Linked DNA regions of Homo sapiens: region 1 is linked to region 2. Evidence: promoter capture Hi-C in 16 types of primary human blood cells and fetal thymus (Javierre and others, 2016). All regions are on one chromosome and are shown on one strand. The core of a region is centred on a gene start or on the middle of the fragment in contact, and the rest is flanking DNA. Distances in the headings are between cores, read along the strand shown.

Region 1 (5,835 bases), core at 2,370-4,869, 100 kb before region 2:
TTGGAGCTTATAGTCCATAGACAGGGGGTCGGGTGTTATTCAAAGTGTAGTGGGAAGGCATTGGAGGATTTTTAAGGAAGAGAGTAGGACAATATGATAAGCATTTTATAAAGACACACTGATGCTGTTGGAAAATGGATTTTGAAATGGACAAGAGTGGAAACAGGTAGACCTGTTTGGGGCAACCAGGTTGTCCAGGTGGGATCCTGGGACCTGGGACTATGATCGTGGCAGTGGATCTGGGAAACTTCTAGATGGGCTCCATTAGGGCAACCTGTATCTCAGAGGTGCTCCAGCCCCTCAGCCCTTCAAGGAAACTGGTGGTCCCCGCCCCCCATCACCATGGCAGCAGGGCTCCTTTGCTTGGATTGTCTGCTGGGCCACATCATTAGTCTTGTGACTGACCCCATGATGGGGACTGGTTGCCATGGTTCTGTCAAGTATGCAAACAAGGAGCTGCTATGCCTCAGGCTCAGGCAACCTGAGAAACCCCTAATGTGTCTCTTGGAAAATCCTGGGAAGGAGACGGGATTAGAGATGGGGAACAAGGGAAGGGACTTGAGACTGCTATTGAGATTGGTTCTGCACTTGGTGGGGGAAGGGGAGAGGGAGGGGAGTGGCAACCACTGCCTGAGTGCATTAACTGAAAATCCCTTGTTTCTTCCCATTTTAGGACGTCTTTGAGCCATTCCCTACTCTGAGTCACAACCTCGTAGCTGATTAAGGCCACATGGGAAGCTTCCCATTCCTCATACTTCCCCTGATGCTCTCAGGAAGGACAATTTCAGGCTGAACCAAATCTGGATTATTAAAGTCAATTTTCAAAAAAAACTCAGCAGACTTGTCTGGAGGCAGAATTGGTGGCCGGGGGACCAAGCCAGAGCCTCCCAGGTGAGAGCTGGGAGAGGTGGGAGCCAAATGCAGGGAAGCCTGGGGAGTGGGTGCAGACAGCCAGCCCCTGGTTGTCCGAAGGCCTTGTTTCAGATGCCTTTTTCCTTCCATGGGTCATTTCTAAAGCAGGTGAAAGGCAGGGTGGCAAGGCAGCCATCCCCACGCAGCCTTCAGTTGTGTCTTACTGGTCTTCTTTCCCCTGATAGAAGGAAATCCACCCCCTCCAGACCCCAGGTCAAGCAGGTCTGGGCCCTGCTCTGCCTTCAGAGGTCCATGGTACCTGTTCAGCATTAGGGTCCCCTAAACGGCAGTCATACCAGCCCCACCCCAAGAATCCACAAACAATTCCACAGCCAAAGGCTATGCACATTTAACTTTTGGTACCTATGGTCAATTTTCCCCTGGGAAAGGGGAGTCTAGCCACCAATGTTCAACCCAACCAAGCTCCAGCAGGTCCCATGCTTCAAGTTTTATGTTTCTCAAAGCACCTGCACACTCAGCTCATTTATTTTGTTTTGTTAATTTTCAGTGTTCATTGGGTAGTCAGCTCATTCAATCCTCATAAGTGGGAGCACAAGGGAAAATATCAAGCCCCTCCACTATGGAATACAGAGAAATTACAAGAGAGTCCTTTAGTATACAGGCTCAATGATGCCACCAATATATGTCCTCTCCCCTGCCGCTTTGCTTGTAAGGACATCGATAAATATGATGCTCAACTAGTCATATTTATTTATACCTATTTTTATTAGCTAGGTTGACCCTTACCACCCACTTTACTTTTCCCCATCAAACATTTTACTTTCTTTTATGCAACCCACATTTGTAAAGATTTGTGCTTTACTGTGCCTGGCCTCTGCAATACATAGTTCCTGCCTCAAGGCAATTGAAGGCTAGGCAGGGAAGGAAGACATACATACGACGTACTTGTGCAACAGATATTGAACACCTGTGCAGCAGACCAGGCAGGTGCCCTGCCTCATATCCAATGGCCCATCTCTGAGGTTACCTGCAGCAAGCACGTGGACAACGTCTGTGTGCTGACAGCTTCCCACCTCGAAACCTGGAAACACTCTGATTCTCGTCCTGCGGGTTTTCTGGAACACCAGGAGAACTTGCACACCTGTGCACCAGACAGCCCTGAAGTGCCTGGGACTTAACACCCTCAGGGGCAATCATCAACACTTTAAAGGCTGAGTTAGCTGGGCGTGGTGGCTCACGCCTGTAATCTCAGCACTTTGGGAGGCTGAGGCAGGTGGATCACCTGAGGTCAGAAGTTCAAGACCAGCCTGGCCAACATGGCGAAACCCCATCTCTAAAACTACAAAAATTATCTGGACATGGTGGTGGGAGCCTGTAATCCCAGCTACTTGGGAGGCTGAGGCACGAGAATCTCTTGAAACTGGGAGGCAGAGGATGCAGTGAGCCAAGATCGTGCCATTGCACTCCAGCCTGGGCAACAAAGCAAGACTCTGTCTCAAAAAAAAAAAAAAAAAAAAAAAAAAGGCTGTGTTACTGGATAAATATTCCAATGTATCCTCCCCTCGGTGGGATAAATTTGAGACAACTTCCACAGGGATCCTCGGGAATCCCCAGCAGGGTCAATTCCCAATTGCCCACAGCAACAACCTGCTCACCAACATTCTGTGTATTGGCTTTTCTCCTTTCCTTCTCTCACTTTCCCCTTCCTTCACTTGTGCTTGCAGGGATGACCTGCCACCTAGACCACCTGCACCCGATCCTCTTTTCAAGGTTCCTTTTGGGTGAATCCAAACTAAGATGATCTATTATGTTTTGGGCTCAGTCCTAGGCACTAGGGATATAGTGGTGAACAAGACAAAGTCCTTGCTTCCATGAGCTTGGAGCTATTTAACGACGCTATAACCCACAGGAAAAAGTCCAGGCTTCTTATATGGTCCACATGGCCCTCAGTCTCCTGCCAGCCTCTCCTGTCTCATTTAAAGGCATTCTCCTTTCTGCCTGTGTGGATGCTTCAGCAATTCAGCCCCCACTCGTGTTTCTCAAATTGGGCCTTGCTAGTTCACACTGCTCAGCCCTTATACACACAGTACTCTCTACCCCCAAGTACCCACCAACACACCTTATCCATCTTATCCTAAAAATATGAGCTTAATATCCCCTTTTCTATTGTGCCTTCTCTGACCTTCCAATCATTTCTCCCGAGTTCATCACACTCTTCTCCATGCAAACTCAATGTTTAACTTTATACCTTGTAAGTAGGTATACCTTGCTTTTCCTTGGGGTCACTGTATATGACTGACTCATCTCTGTGTCATGGGTACCTAGCATAGTACCTAGGTACAGCCCAGGTACTCAACACATATTTATGGAGTAGAGTTAAATAAATATAGTGGAGAAAAAGAGCTACAGCTGGAAGACTGTACTGCGCCATCCATGAAATTGGTGAATTCTGTCCTTACAAATGGACCTCTCCACTCTGACAGTCTGTGACCCTTGATTGTACATGCAACTGGGTGATATGGGAAGGTCCCAGCACGGAAGAAACTTTTTGAGCTGGCCCTGGAGGTCTGGGGTGGATTTCAGTAGGAGGTGATAAAGTATGGACAATAGCATACAAGACAAAGAAGTTGGAAAGCAGGAAGATTAGTGGGTGAACGAGTAATTCTGGAACAGCTGGAGGTAAGTCTGGAAAAGTAGGTTTGGGCTTGATGATGGAGGGCCAAGTTTATAATTTAGGTCTCATTATTTTTTTTTTTTTTTGAGACAGAGTCTCGCTCTGTCGCCCAGGCTGGAGTGCAGTGGCGCGATCTCGACTCACTGCAAGCTCCGCCTCCCGGGTTCACGCCATTCTCCTGCCTCAGTCTCCTGAGTAGCTGGGACTACAGATGCTCGCCACCATGCCCGGCTAATTTTATATATATATATATATTTAGTAGAGACAGGGTTTCACTGTGTTAGCCAGGATGGTCTCGATCTCCTGACCTTGTGATCCGCCCGCCTCGGCCTCCCAAAGTGCTGGGATTACAGGCGTGAGCCACTGTGCCCGGCCTAGGTCTCATTTTTAAGAGGCCATGGGGAGCACTGACATTTTGTAGTCAAAGAAATAACATATTTGAAGGATGAATGCAGGAGGCGAGAGGGGGGGAAATATATGAAAAGGAGGTAGCCAATTAGAACAGTGATATGATGACTTACATATGCTCTAAGGGCCTGAAATTGGGCAGAGATGGAGCAAATGGAAAGGAGACACCTTTGAGAGTTGTGCTGAAGAGTGAGTTGAGAGGCCTTGGCAACTGTCTGGGTGTTGGGAGCAGGCCCCCCAAAATCTGGCCATAAACTGGCCCCAAAACTGGCCATAAACAAAATCTCTGCAGCACTGTAACATGTTCATAATGGCCCTAATGCCCAAGCTGGAAGGTTGTGGGTTTATGGGAATGAGGGCAAGGAACACCTGGCCCGCCCGGGGTGGAAAACCACTTAAAGGCATTCTTAAGCCACAAGCAATAGCATGAACGATCTGTGCCTTAGGGACATGCTCCTGCTGCAGTTAACCAGCCCAACCTATTCCTTTAATTCAGCCCATCCCTTCATTTCCCATAAAAGATACTTTTAGTTAATTTAATATCTATAGAAACAATGCTAATGACTGGTTTGCTGTTAATAAATATGTGGGTAAATCTCTGTTCGGGGCTCTCAGCTCTGAAGGCTGTGAGACCCCTGATTTCCCACTTCACACCTCTATATTTCTGTGTGTGTGTGTTTAATTCCTCTAGCGCCACTGGGTTAGGGTCTCCCCAACCCACCTGGTCTTAGCATCTGGGTTTCAGTGAAGAGATAAAGAGAGAAGCCACCTAAATTTAGAGAACTATTGCCTGGGAAAATAATCACGCTACTTACAGAAAAAGGGGTGACTGGAGGAGGAAGGATTTGAGAAAGAAATTTGGTTTACTCCTAAGAATTAAAGCCAGAGGCCGGCTCAGTGGCTCACGCCAGTAATCCCAGTGACTCAGGAAGCCAAGGTAGAAGGATTGCCTGAGGCCAGGCATTCAAGATCAGCCTAGACAATATAGTAAGACCCCCATATATACGAAAAATTTTTTAAATAGCCGGGTGTGGTAGCCTCTGCCTGTAGTCCCAGCTACTTGGGAGACGGAGGTGGGAGGATCCCTCAAGCCCAGGAGTTCGAGGTTATAGTGAGCTATGATCATGCTACTGCACTCCAGCCTGGGTGACAGAGCAGGACCCCATTTCTAGGGGGAAAAAGTAAAAAGAAGAAAGAAAGAAAGAGAGAGAGAGAAAGAGAGAGAGAGAGAGAAAGAGAGAAAGGAAGGGAAGGGAAGAAGGAGAAAGGAGAAAGGAGGGGGAAAGGAGGGGAGGGGGCGGGGGAGTGAGAGAGGGGCAAGCCAGAGGCCTATTCAGGATCATCACTCTAGAAATTCTCTCCTCTCTTGGCCGGGTGCAGTGGCTCACGCCTATAATCCCAGCACTTTAGGAGGCCGAGGCGGGTAGATCACCTGAGGTCAGGAGTTTGAGACCAGCCTGACCAACATGGTGAAACCCTGTCTCTACTAAAAATACAAAAATTAGCCGGGCATGGTGGCGGGCACCTGTAATCCCAGCTACTTGGGAGGCTGAGGCAAGAGAACTGCTTGAACCTGGGAGGCGGGGGTTGCAATGAGCTAAGATCGTGCCATTGCACTCCAGCCTGGGCAACACAGCGAGACTGTATCTCAAAAAAAAAAAAAAAGAAGAAGAAAGAAATTATCTCCTCTCTTTTCTTTATCATTTTCTCCTCATTTCTAGACACCTCCCATAAACATACAAACATCCTGGAATAGCTCCAATATTAAAAACAGAAGAACAACAGAAAACTTGATTTCTGCTCCTGGCAATGGTAGACTTGATAATTTAAACAAATCTTGCTGAAGACACCTTGTCTTAGTTTGTGTTTAGCCCCCAACT
Region 2 (5,489 bases), core at 952-3,451:
GAGCTCAAAAGTGGGGCACAGGTCATGGTCATGTGACCAAACTGGGACATGCACCAGAAGGGGTGGGAATGGGGAACAGGTGAGAAAAGGAACCTGGAGACTCTTTTACCTGCAGGGTCAGAGCCTGGCGGGAGCCCTCCACATGGATGCATGCTTGATTCATGGAACCCAAGTCCATTAAAACTGGCTGCCCCTCATCTCCAAGCAATATATTGGTGGGCTTCAAGTCTCTGTAGAGAAGTAGAAGTGACCTATGAGCATCTCTGGACAGGAAGGCTGGAATCCCAGCAAGCAAAAGAATCATACAGGCTGTTTCTTGGGAGAACAGAGACCTCCCATGTCTCCTGGTGAGGCTCTTCCTCTGGGCCCCAGCAAGCACACAGGGTCCTCCCACTGACCTGTGGGCATAACCCTTGGCATGAATGGCCTCAAGGCCTCTGCAGATCCCCAGCAGCAGCCAAAGGATTTGATCCTCGGTCAGGAAGTTGCCTTTGTCCTTCAGCCTTTCTATCTCATTCCACAGCGTACCTCTCTGCAACACAAGTTTCCCTACAGTTGGAGATGTTTTTGGAGCCTCTGCTCCTTAGGCCTGATCCCTTCCCTATGTCAAAGCCTATCAGCCCTTTCATGATACACACCTCAAACTCAAAATCTAAAGTGGCCAAACCCAGGACATGGTCCCTGCTTCCTAACATGCTGGACTGCTCACACAGCCCTTGAGTAGGTGGCTCTGCTGCAACCCCCTCCATAACCAGGAGTCTTTCTGACCTTGAAGAATGGTAGCAGCAGCCAGGCCTCATGCTTAGCACCCCGTTCCCTCAGACAGTAAGCCACGAGGCGAAGGATGTTGGGGTGATTGAAGAGGCGATGCATGTCGGCTTCTCGCTGGGCCTCCTCCCGGTCCTGCTGCTCGTGACACAGGATTCGCTTCAGGGCGTAGAAGTGTCCATCATGTAACCCTTCCACTAGGTCCACATAGCTGAACCCACTGTGGGCCAAAGGGGTCAATAAAGGGCCATGGTCATCTCCCACATGGCTTGGACCTAGAGAAATTTCCTGGTGGGGAGTGGGGTGTCCTTCCCATTTAGCAGAAACCTTCCCAAGATGTGGCTCTAAGAGAAATCTGAAGAATATTACACCGTGAGCTCCTCAGGAGCAGAGATATAGAAATCTTTGAGGTCCTATGGTCGTAATAGAGACCTCTGCACTTGACAGATGCTAAATAAATAATAGCCAACACTTATCAAGTACTTGTCAACCCCGCATTGGGTGAGACATTTTATACACATTATCTCATTTAATCCTCACAACTCCATCAGTGAGGGATAATAATCATCTCCATTAAGCTGATGAAAAAAACATGGTTTATCAAGGTCACACGAGGTGGATTTAGCAGGCCTGGCTCCAGAATCCACCTTCTTGATACTGTGTAGCTAGGTTCTGTCAGGTGAGAGAGGACAGGGATAGGGATAAAACCCTTGTGCCCCAAGCATATGCACACCGCTGTCCTTCAATGATCATAAACTTGAGGACTAGTTAACTGACTTCCAAACACTCACCCCTCCCCCAGTTTCTGGATGAAGAGGTAGCGCTTATTGTCAATGATGACAGTTCCCCGAGAGCAGACACACAGCGCGTGGCCCATAATGTCTCAGTCATCCTCTTCAAGGACGGTCTGAGGCTACCGAAGAGCTCGTCCAGGGTGAGTGGGCTCTTCCAGGAGATGCGCTGGGGGCCCAGCGGATCATGCTGGAAAGAAAACAACGGCAGGGTCACAGGTCCGGCACAATCCAGACGACCCATGAAGTACCAATGCGGAGAGCTCAGGCCCAGGTCTCTGGAACCTACACTATAGTGTAGAGAAAACAGGCCCTGCTCCGTCGCCAGCTTCAGGGGTGGGGTCAGGCGCCTTACGGCCTCAGGACACACAGCGGCTACCGGGCCACTTCCTCCAACCCCAGCCCATCTTTGGGCAGCCCCCGCTCCCACGCCCATCGCGCCGCAAAAGCAGAGCATAGCGTAGTTTCAGAGGACGTGCGAGGCTCAGGCCCACTCCTGGCAGGGCCCACCCCGGTCTAGGAGCCCAGAGCCCGGGATGGGCCATCTGCACTGCCGGACTGACCTGGCTCGGGCCAGAGAGAAGCGCCACCGACCGGAAGCAGTGCTGACATCATCAGTCCGCGCCGGCGTAACGGCCCGCGGTATCTCAGCAACCGCTGGGCATCCGGAGGATGTGGGGACGCGGAGCTGAGAGGCTCCGGGCTAGCTAGGTGTAGGGGTGGACGGGTCCCAGGACCCTGGTGAGGGTTCTCTACTTGGCCTTCGGTGGGGGTCAAGACGCAGGCACCTACGCCAAAGGGGAGCAAAGCCGGGCTCGGCCCGAGGCCCCCAGGACCTCCATCTCCCAATGTTGGAGGTAGGAGGCTTCATACCTCTGGCGCTCTGGGGCAGAAAGCGGCCAACTACACTGCAGCCTGGAGGGGGATCCAGTGAGGGGCGGGTCTGGTGGCCTGGTCTCCTGATCCCGTACAACCTTCTGGGCTCTGGCCTGTATCCCACTACCCCTAGTCTCAGTGGTTAAGAGCTCAGGCTTGTGAACCAGACTTCCAGTTTCTAAATTGAGTGTTAATAGCATGCTAGCTGTGTAACCTCGGGCAAGTTACTTAACCTCTCGGATCCTTACTTTTGGTAGCTGTAAAATAGGTATAATAGTACATAAGGTTAAGTAGCTTAACTGTGAGGCCAGACTGACTAGTTCAAATGACAGCTCCGTTAACGTAGTTGTGTGACCTTGGACAGGCTACTTAATGTTTCTGTCCTTTCCTCTCCTCCTCTGTAAAATGGAAATAATTATCTACCTCATGGAGTTGAAGATTAAATGAGATGTACAGTGTTTAATACAATATCTGACACATAGCCTTCAGTACGTGTCAATAAACCGTAATTATTATTACCCTGATCTTCACATCCCATTCTTGAGACTGTAAAGGCAAAAGGAACGGAAATTCACAGATTTTCGAGCTTTGGCACAAAGCAGTTGTCCTTAATATCTGTTGCGGAGGCAGGCAGGGGTAAGCTGGAGAGGGGTGCACTTCCAAAGAAGGTGGAATGGCCAGGAGGGAATGGCTGTTTTGCTGAAACAGGACTCTCCAGGAAAGAGGTCCTTCTTGTGACCTGGTTCCTCCCTTCCACACCCCGGATCACCCTGAAGATTTTCCAATGGTTTCCCCTGGTTCTGAACCTGTTTTAGCCTTTTGGTTATGACATTGATTCATCCAGATTTAACCTACTATATACCCGGCCCTGTGCTAGAGGCTGAGGATTTGAGATGAACAGGGCACTCCCTGTCCTCAGGGAGCCCAGTCAAGTAAAGCCATGCTTCTCAATTTTGAAGGTGCCTAGGATCACCTGGGAATCTTGTTAAAATACAAATTCTGATTCTATAGGTCTGAGGTAGGATCTGAGATTTTACATTTCTTTTGTTTGTTTGTTTGTGTTTTTTGAGACAGAGTCTCGCTCTGTTGCCCAGGCTGGAGTGCAGTGGCAGGATCTCGGTTCACTGCAACCTCCGCCTTCCGGGTTCAAGCAATTCTCCTGCCTCAGCCCCTACCCCCACCCCCACCCCCACCCCCACCCCCACCCTCGGAGTAGCTTGGAATACAGGCGCGTGCCACCAGGCCCGGCTAATTTTTGTATTTTTAGTAGAGACAGGGTTTTGCCCTGTTGGCCAAGCTGGTCTTGAACTCCTGACCTCAAGTGATCCACCCGCCTCGGCCTCCCAAAGTGTTGGGATTACAGGCGTGAGCCATCGTGCCCAGCCAGATTCTCCATTTCTAACAAGTTCCCAGGTGATGTCGATGAAGCTGGTTCGTGAACTGCACTTTAACATGATGTAGAAATTTTACAAACTAGTAGAGTAAGGGGGTGGCTGCAGGCTGGAGAGGAAGTCCAGGCTAAACGCCTGGCAACTTGAGGTGGTTTCCGCCCCCTTGCTCGCTGAGGTTCCCTCCCAGGAATCCGACACGTGACGGTCTGTCCGCCGTCTCAGACTAGAGGAGCGCTGTAAACGCCATGGCTCCCAAGAAGCTGTCCTGCCTTCGTTCCCTGCTGCTGCCGCTCAGCCTGACGCTACTGCTGCCCCAGGTAAGATGAGACGGTGAACCAGCCTGCCGGGTGCGGTGAGCGGGATCAGATCCAGCGGATGAGAGAAAGTCCAAAGTAACAACCAAACAACCCGCAGGGCTAGTTCCATCTCTTCCGCTCTTGGCAGGCGCTGACCCTCGACGCTCCCTCCAGGCGTCTGCTGAGCAGCGTCTCTTTCTCTTTATAGGCAGACACTCGGTCGTTCGTAGTGGATAGGGGTCATGACCGGTTTCTCCTAGACGGGGCCCCGTTCCGCTATGTGTCTGGCAGCCTGCACTACTTTCGGGTACCGCGGGTGCTTTGGGCCGACCGGCTTTTGAAGATGCGATGGAGCGGCCTCAACGCCATACAGTTGTAAGAAGTGCTCGCAAGAGCCGCGGAGGGATGGGATCTACTTTTTCTACCGCCCCCTTATAAAGAAGGTCGGGACAGGAAGACTGCCAGGACTCCTAGGCCAAGGGTGGGAAAGGGCAGGCCAGGACCTCCTTCCAACCGCTTCCTGGAGATTCCCTGCAAGGCCTGAGCCGTTAGGCCTCCCTGGCGTCTCTTCACCTTGGTTCCTATTAACCTCTTCCTTTCTCAGTTATGTGCCCTGGAACTACCACGAGCCACAGCCTGGGGTCTATAACTTTAATGGCAGCCGGGACCTCATTGCCTTTCTGAATGAGGCAGCTCTAGCGAACCTGTTGGTCATACTGAGACCAGGACCTTACATCTGTGCAGAGTGGGAGATGGTGAGTTAGCTGGAGAAGGGATAGAACCAGTTATCCTTGTGCAGTTCCTAGACTACTCCCATCTGCCCACACTCTAGGGCCATCTCCAGCACTATATTCAATTCCTTCCCTTCCTTCCTTCCCTTCCTAGCTTCCCCACCACACCCCAAAACAAAACCTACATGCTTCTTTGTTCTCTTTATGTTTGTCTCAGGGGGGTCTCCCATCCTGGTTGCTTCGAAAACCTGAAATTCATCTAAGAACCTCAGATCCAGGTGAGTTGAGACAAAGGATTTAACACAGAAGCAAGTAAGTAAAATGGGCTATTTGGGTGCCAAAAGCAGAAGAGACCATTCCCAAATTGGAGGTCATCATTCATTTACCAAGTGTTTCCTTCATGCCCAGCAGGATGCTAGAAACTGGGGGACCAGACAGACCCCCATCCTTGTGCCGTAAAGCTTATAATATAGTGGAAGAAACTGATTAAAAAAAAAAAAAACAGCTGGGCGCGGTGGCTCATGCCTGTGATCCCAGCACTTTCAGAGGCCCAGGCGGGTGCATGACCTGAGGTCAGGAGTTTGAGACCCACCTGGCCAACATGGCAAAATCCCATCTCTACTAAAAATACAAAAA

The links. Contacts are between HindIII fragments. The CHiCAGO score rates a contact against its expected background, and 5 or more counts as called.
Region 1: a fragment that was not itself captured here is called in contact with the fragment with the promoter of GLB1L in region 2 in 2 of 17 cell types (M1 macrophages and M2 macrophages); the score reaches 6.3 in M1 macrophages.

Annotation. Positions count from the first base shown.
Region 1 is chr2:219,345,656-219,351,490 of GRCh38, reverse strand. It overlaps LOC107985835 (a long non-coding RNA gene), which reads left to right. Exons shown (of 3, transcript XR_001739232.1): 3 at 674-824. Among named protein-coding and RNA genes, the nearest start is that of RESP18, 16 kb to the right of the region's middle. The HindIII fragment of the contact is 5,757 bases long and covers 741-5,835 here.
Region 2 is chr2:219,242,156-219,247,644 of GRCh38, reverse strand. GLB1L (galactosidase beta 1 like) reads left to right here and starts at 2,201. Exons shown (of 17, transcript NM_001286423.2): 1 at 2,201-2,416; 2 at 4,002-4,143; 3 at 4,331-4,497; 4 at 4,727-4,877; 5 at 5,071-5,131. The coding sequence starts at 4,072. STK16 (serine/threonine kinase 16) reads right to left here and starts at 2,166. Exons shown (of 8, transcript NM_001330213.2): 1 at 1,849-2,166; 2 at 1,560-1,749; 3 at 769-988; 4 at 399-532; 5 at 110-230. The coding sequence starts at 1,645. RefSeq lists enhancers at 2,025-2,454, 1,903-2,485. The HindIII fragment of the contact is 6,920 bases long and covers 1-5,316 here.